Linked DNA regions of Homo sapiens: region 1 is linked to region 2. The links are contacts of gene promoters, found by promoter capture Hi-C in blood cells and fetal thymus (Javierre and others, 2016). All regions are on one chromosome and are shown on one strand. Each heading gives the region's core, a stretch centred on a gene start or on the middle of the fragment in contact. The rest is flanking DNA. Distances are from core to core; before and after follow the strand shown. Region 1 holds the start of LOC107987101 (a long non-coding RNA gene). Region 2 holds the start of HSD17B3 (hydroxysteroid 17-beta dehydrogenase 3).

What was found. The method cuts DNA at HindIII sites, captures the fragments that hold promoters and counts their contacts. A CHiCAGO score of 5 or more calls a contact.
Region 1: a contact is called between a fragment that was not itself captured here and the fragment with the promoter of HSD17B3 in region 2, in 1 of 17 cell types (total CD8 T cells). The highest score is 5.8, in total CD8 T cells.

What each region holds. Positions count from the first base shown.
Region 1 is chr9:94,696,772-94,700,808 of GRCh38, forward strand. It overlaps LOC107987101 (a long non-coding RNA gene), which reads right to left and starts at 3,388. Exons shown (of 4, transcript XR_001746846.1): 1 at 3,170-3,388. The HindIII fragment of the contact is 242 bases long and covers 1,158-1,399 here.
Region 2 is chr9:96,300,073-96,303,675 of GRCh38, forward strand. It overlaps HSD17B3 (hydroxysteroid 17-beta dehydrogenase 3), which reads right to left and starts at 2,104. Exons shown (of 11, transcript NM_000197.2): 1 at 1,879-2,104. The coding sequence starts at 2,032. SLC35D2-HSD17B3 (SLC35D2-HSD17B3 readthrough) reads right to left here. Exons shown (of 26, transcript NR_182427.1): 16 at 1,879-2,239. The HindIII fragment of the contact is 6,593 bases long and covers 1-3,603 here.

The DNA.
Region 1 (4,037 bases), core at 29-2,528, 1.6 Mb before region 2:
CTAGCAAGTGATTTGATAACTTCCAGCATGGACTTCAATTCATAGATCACAACACGTCAGAGACCTTATCAGGGCTATGGTTGGTCTAACTCCACAGGTGTGAAAGATCGGGGTAGTTATTCCTCCTGAGGATCTTACATGGAATCCTTTTTTTTTTTCAAAACTGTATCACCTAAGTTTCTGGTGTATCACAAGACATGCCCATAGCAAAGGTAAACTTGATGGTTGATGCTCTTTTTTTCATGCTTAGCACACACTAGAGAAATATATCTGCTCATGAATATGTAAATAATTTTTATTTAAAGTCTAACTGGCTTGAAAGAAAATTCTTGAATCACCTCTTGGTGTTCTAGGAATTCAATATTTCTCAGTGCAAATATCAAACTCCTACTCAGATGCACCAAATGGAGACTTGGCTGGTTTTAAAGCATCTATTTACTCAGAAGAATAGAGCCCACGCACAGGGAAAATGTCCCTTCTTCTACTGATGTCCCAAATGCCTCTTTGCTTAAAGATTGCTTAAGAGGGATGCCAATGTAGTTAATGCAGCTCTATAGTGAGGAGTGAACCCAGTCCAGCTCCATATTACATTTTTGTGTTTCATAATATTATAAGGCTCTTAGCAAGGAGGGGAAAGAACCAATTCAGAGAAAAAGAGCTTATGCCCTCTGGAATGAATAAGATGCCAAGATGGCAGATAGTACCAGATAGTTCATCTTAATGCTTTTTTTTTTTGTTTTTTTTTTGAGATGGAGTCTCACCCTGTTGCCCAGGCTGGAGTGCAATGGCATGATCTTGGCTCACTGCAACCTCCCCCTCCGGGGTTGAAATGATTCTCCTGCCTCAGCCTCCTGAGTAGCTGGGATTACAGGCACCCGCCATCATGACCAGCTAATTTTTGTATTTTTAGTAGAGACAGGGTTTCACCATGTTGGCCAGGCTGGTGTCGAACTACTGACCTCGTGATCCGCCCACCTTGGGCTCCCAAAGTGCTGGGATTACAGGCATGAGCCACCCTGCCCGGACTAATGCCTTTTTAACAATGTCTGTGTGTACCTTTCTTTTTTCTTGTAACCTGTGTTCTCAAGACAGAGAGCAAAACAGCAGCTTAACGTTTTCTACTAACAGAAAAATCATAGTAACCAAGTGTACCTGAAAGCTTATTAATTTTCCTGGCCAGCCACCTTTACCTTGATTCCTTTTATTGCATTAAAAATCGAGACTAATTAAGGCAACTGTTGCTGCAGCAGGCCAAATTAGGTTTTTCTTAGAGCTCTCCCTTCATCTCACAGAATGATGTCATTAAGTGTGCAGCCTGTGAAATGCTAAGGACAGCCTGTTTCCACCGTGACATGGGTCACTCAGGAATGCGAGGGAAGTACACCACTGAATGTCATAAAGCTTTAAAGAGTTACAATAACACCTACACTGCAGGCCAAGCAGAATATGGGCATTCACTTCTCTTTGTAAACAGACTCTGTGAAGCCAGAGGGAAGGTAGGCGGGAAGTGATGCGGGAAATGATGGCATGAAGGCTCTGCATAGCTGCTCTGCAGGCTACTTGGTCTATGGGCCTCTTGATTGGCCAGTCACCCAGAGGCTTTACATAGAACTGGGAATTGGGACCACCAAATTGCACAGCTTCTTGGCAGGCCTGTTTGGCCACAGGCAGCTCTTGAATCACAGGGCTATATTATATGGCCACTTGATACCTGCTTATGATTAAGCAAGCTCCAGTGTGCTTTCACAATAGAGATATATTAGTCAAATAAGTTTACTTCATTTTTTTCCATGAGCCCTGGGATTTGAAGAGTTAGATTACAGTCCACTCACCAAGATTCTTTCATACAGATGGTTTTCTTATAGTGGAGTAGCCCATTGCCTTCTCAAGTGAAAACTATTTAGTCGATCCCCTCTGGTTTGTTGTTTGCATGTGTCTAGGTAGTCTCTGAGTCCTGATCCTTAACCAGACATAAGCATTTGTGTTGACATTGATCAAAAAACACTACTATTGCCAACTACTCAGCATGTGTTTCTAATACCTACTATGTATAAGGCATAGTTCTAGATGCTATGAGCTAGACATTGATCAGAAGCCTGTAAGACCTGTTCTCAAGAAGACAGGTTAAATATACATTAAAGTAATTCAGAATACATGACAGTCTTCGAAAAGGGCAAAGAAAAGACAGGAGTTTAAATTATAATTGGAAGAAGAATGTGAAGGGAAACAGAGGTCAAGAGAGATAAGTATTGTTTGGAAAGATCAGGAATGATGTGAAATTCAGATAGTGGAAAATGTAAAATTTAAGGAGGGATAAGCAGAGAAAAGGGACAAGCCAGAGGGAACAGCTAAAGACTAGTTTGATGAGAAGAAGAAGGTTACCCATGTTTCACTTGTACACTGTCTTAGGTGGTAAGCTAAGGAATTTAAACTTGTCTTTAAAAAAAAAACAAAATCACTTTATTGAGGTATGATTGACATATAAAAAGCTGTGTCTACTTAATGTATACATCTCGATAAGTTTGGGCATAAGTATACCCCTATGAAGCAATCACCACCATCAAGGAGATATTTATGTCCATTAACTTTTTTTTATAGACAGTGGGGAGCCATAGAATGTTCTTAACAAGGGACTTATATCATTTAGGGATTTTTTTTTTTTTTTTTTTTTTGGTGAGGCAGAGTCTTGCTCTGTCACCCAGGCTGGAGTGCAGTGGCGCGATCTCGGCTCACTGCAAGCTCCGCCTCCCAGGTTCACGCCATTCTCCTGCCTCAGACTCCCAAGTAGTTGGGACTACAGGCGTCCGCCACCACATTTGGCTAATTTTTTTTTTTTGTATTTTTTGTGGAGACGGGGTTTCACCATGTTAGCCAGGAAGGTCTCGATCTCCTGACCTCGTGATCCGCCCACCTCAGCCTCCCAATGTGCTGAGATTACAGGCGTGAGCCACCGCACCCGGCCCATTTAAGGCTATTTTATCATAAGCAGCAGAGAAGCCAATTTGACCTGGCTTAAACAACAAAGGAAGTTTCTTGGCTTACACAATAGAAATCTCTACAGACAGATATTGGCCTCAGGTAAGGTTTGATCTAGCAATCCAAACAAGAACTCCCGGACACTAGTTCCTCTCTGCCTCAGCTTCATCCTTAGATACCACATTGTCCCTACCTGCCATCCCCATCCTCTTCTAGGCAGCTCCTGGCTCTCCATGTGTGGCAGAAAATGGCTGCAGTAACTCCAGGCCTCAGATCTCCCTATACCTTCTGGAGGAAGAGCAAGCCTCTTTCCTGGTAGCATCTCTGGAAGAGGAGGAAGCTTGTCTTTCCCAGAGGCTTCAAATGGCTCCTGTGTCTTCATGGATCTGAATGGGTTACTGATTTATCTGGGAATCAGTGGAGGATGTAAGTAAGTACATGGGAAAAGCTGATTGGTTTAAGCCAACCACAGTCCACCCGTAGAGCAGGAGAGGTGGGTGAATCCCTCCCAAGCCACAGGGCTAGAATGAGAAAGGATAGATTTCCTGAAGGAATCTGTAAGTAGTGTTAGGAAGGGAGAATGGCCCTTGGGTGGCCAAAGAGTGACACATGTTTACTAGAGGTAATAATAAGACAAAGGTAGGTAGGTTTATGTGACAGTCAAGACCAGCTTATCAAGCCATATAATTGTAAAGGTATGAACTAACCTCTACTGACACTGACTACGTAGTCAGTATCAACCTAAAAAAAAAAAAGACACCAGAAAATTGTCTCTAAATATGTTGGGTTTACTCAAGAATAGAAGTAAGGATTATAGACTGGAATGCATGGAATGGCAAGCCACTAGTGCATTCAGTGAGGAAGGGGGAAGGGAACTTTTATTAGCAAAAATAAATTGACATAAACTGCTTAGAAACAAGTTCATTGGTTCCAGAGGTTCAAAGCCAGAATTGTTGTCAGTTCATTGGTGGAGATGTCGCTACTGGGCAAGTGTTCTTCCAAGAACATTTTATTTGAATCACTGCAGTCCTAAAGAATGTCTAGTGATAGGCTGGGTGCGG
Region 2 (3,603 bases), core at 854-3,353:
TGTGCAGAGTGCTACGTCCACCCACACGTGGGCATCTGAATCTGTGTGGAGTGGGGTATTTAAATCCAGAACACTCAGGTCAAGCTGCTGAGCAAGTTCAAGCAAGTTCACTCCTGACAGCATAATACCCCAAGAGGACACACACACACACACACACACACACACACACACACACACACACGCACACAGCAAATATAAGACGCAGAAGTCAAAAATCCATTTGTCATCCCAAACAATTTCTCACACGGTAATTTTTTTAATTTCCATTGCTAAGTTTTTAAGGTTGCCAGGTTTAGCAAATAAGGATACAGAATGCCCACTTAAATTTGAAATTAAGGTAAATTATGAATTGTTTAATGCATGTCTCATGCCATATGTGAGTTATACTAAAAAAGTATTCCTTTTTTTCTGAAATTTAAATTTAACTGGGTATCCTGTATTTTATCTGGCAGCCCTATAAGCATATTAGAATCTTTCCTATTTTGCCTAGATAATATCTCTAAAGTCACTTAATCATTTTTGTCATTGGATTCTTTGTGTGTGTGTGTGTGTGTGTGTGTGTGTGTCCAAATTTGAAATATAAGGCCCTGCAAAGACTTTAGCATTTCAGATATTCAAGGAGATGCTGAAACCATGGCCTCATGCTCTTCACCTTAACTTCAGTCATAGGGCTGAAGTTCTGCATGGGCGTTCCAGTAGATAAATCCCATGGGGAGGCAGCATTAATTGACACCAGCCAGACCCAGATTCCATTCCATACCATCCTGAAAACATGGCTCCATAGAGTTATGCGTTGCCTTGATTTTGTAACACCTTCATTTCTTAAAAACACTTGGATCCTTTTTTTAATACAATGAGTTAAAATTATTTAGATTTCAAAATTTGGAAACACCTTTTAGTAAAGTGAAAGCACCCTGGGCTTTTTGTAAATTTAGAGATGAGGATGCAGAAATTTCTGCATTATTTATTATTTGTATTAGCAGGAAACTCCCAAAAGAAGAAAACTCATCTAATGGGGTTGAGAGGATAAGTGCTTAGCAAGGGCTGGGTAGCCTTCTGCCCTAGTGTTCCCCTAATGCCCTACAGCTTGTGTTGCAGACCATTCTAATTTCACTCACACTTTTCTAATCCCCCCAATTAAAATTACCCAAAGGAATTACTTCTTTGCTCTCAAAGAGAAAAAAATGCAATATCCCTTTTGAGACATAAATAATAATAAGCAGGGGCTGGGTGCGGTGGCTCACGCCTGTCATCCCAGCCGTTGGGGAGGCCGAGTCGGGTGAATCACAAGGTCAAGAGTTTGAGACCAGCCTAGCCAACAGGGTGAAACCCTGTCTCTACTAAAAATACAAAACGTTGGCTGGGTGCGGTGGCTCACGCCTGTAATCTCAGCACTTTGAGAGGCTAAAGTGGGCAAATCATGAGGTCAGGAGTTCGAGACCAGCCTGGCCAACATGGGGGAACCCTGTCTCTACTAAAATACAAAAAATTAGCCAGCCGTAGTAGTGTGTGCCTGTAATCCCAGCTACTTGGGAGGCCGAGGCAGGAGAATTGCTTGAACCCAGGAGGCAGAGGTTGCAGTGAGCAGAGATCGCACTACTGCACTCCAGCCCGGGCAACAGAGTGAGACTCTGTCTCAAAAAAAAAAAAAAAACACCATTAGCCAGGTGTGGTGACAGGCGCCTATAATCCCAGCTACTTGGGAGGCTGAGGCAGGAGAATTGCTTAAACCCGGGAAGCGGAGGTTGCAGTGAGCCAAGATCGCGCCATTGCACTCCAGCCTGGGTGACAGAGCAAGTGTCTGTCTCAAAAATAATAATAATAGTAACAAGCAGGAACAACAGCAGCAAAAAAACATGAGATGGAACACTCCCTTACCTGCCCACTGTCCCATTGACCGCAAGAAAGACTTTGGCAAAACTTTCCAGTAGTTCAGTAAAACACATCTGGAGAATCTCACGCACTTCGCCAGGCAGGCCAGGCACACCAGCAGCCCTGTGAGGATGAAGAACTGTTCCAGGACGTCCCCCATGGCTGCACTCAACAGACTGTTTCAGCCCTGGCCGTGGCTCTCTGTGTATGCCTCCTGGGACCACGCTGCTCTGGAGACCTCCAGATCTTCTTCCAGGAGTCACTGGACGTGTTCCATCAAGTCAGGGGCATCTAGATTAAAGTAACTTCTTTACATAATCCTCTGACTCACAGGCCTTTGAATAAGGCTTTTGTTACTGTGGAGGAGCTGGTGAAAAAGTAAAAGGTGGACATGAAGGGAAAAAAACAAAGCCTGGACAAATATAAAATGGCAGCCCACAGTTCTCTCCCTGAATTTGGGAAAGTTAAAAAGGATGCAGAATCCAAGGCAATTATTCATACATTTAGCACTATGTATTGACTGCCTACCAGGTGGAGTCCCCTCTTGAAGGCATTAGGAAGTTAATAGTGACCACAGAGGGTCTCTCTGGTTTGGAGCTTAGATTCTGGTAGCAGGGACAGATGATGAGCAGATAAATAAGATAACATCAGATGGGGCAGTGGCTCACGCCCATAATCCCAACATTTTGGGAAGCCAAGGCAGGCGGGTCACATGAAGTCAAGAGTTCAAGACCAGCCTGGCCAACATGGTGAAACCTCATCTCTACTTAAAATACAAAAATTAGCCAGGCCTGGTGGTGGGCACCTGTAATCCCAGCTACTTGGGAGGCTGAGGCAGGAGAATCACTTGAACTTGGGAGGCGGAGGTTGCAGTGAGCCAAGATCACGCCATTGCACTCCAGCCTGGGTGACAGAGTGAGATTCTGTCTCAAAAAAAAAAAAAAGATAACATCAGTGCTATGAAAAAGCACTATTGAATGATGTGTTTGAGTAGCTACTCAGGGAATGCTTCAGAGAGGGTGTTCAGGAAGGAATTCCATGAAGAGGTGGCATTTTTAGTTGAAATTTGAATGAAAAGGAGCCAGCTCCGCAAAGATGAGTTTCCCCCTCCAGGCTAATGGAACGGCTAGTACAATGCCTGAAGTGAGAAAAATCCACGTATTTGAGGAATAAGAACTAGGACAGGACAGGCATGGTGGCTCACGCCTGTAATCCCAGCACTTTGGGAGGCCGAGGCAGGCGGATCACAAGGTCAGGAGATTGAGACCTACTAAAAATACAATAATTAGCTGGGTGTGGTGGAGCATGCCTGTAATCTTAACTACTTCGGAGGCTGAGGCAGGAGAATCGCTTGAACCTGGGAGGTGGAAGTTGCAGTGAGCTGAGATTGTGCCACTGCACTCCAGTCTGGGCGACAGAGCAAGACTCCATCTCAAAAAAAAAAAAAACACTAGGACAACACAGCAGAGGGACTGGCCACAGAGAGTAAGGGAGGAAAAGGCCAGAGCAGGAGGGAGGAGCCATGCCCTACGGGTGAGTGTGGACTTTCAGAGCAACCAGAAGCCATTGCACAGATTTAGGAAACAGAGTTCTATACTCTGAATTATGCTTTTAAAAGGCCACTGGATGCTGAGGGAAGATGTCCTTCTGGGGGTGGGATGGAGGGTGGGTGTGACAACTGAAGCAAGGGCAGCCAGGATACTGAAGTCATCCCTGCAGAGGCCACAGGAT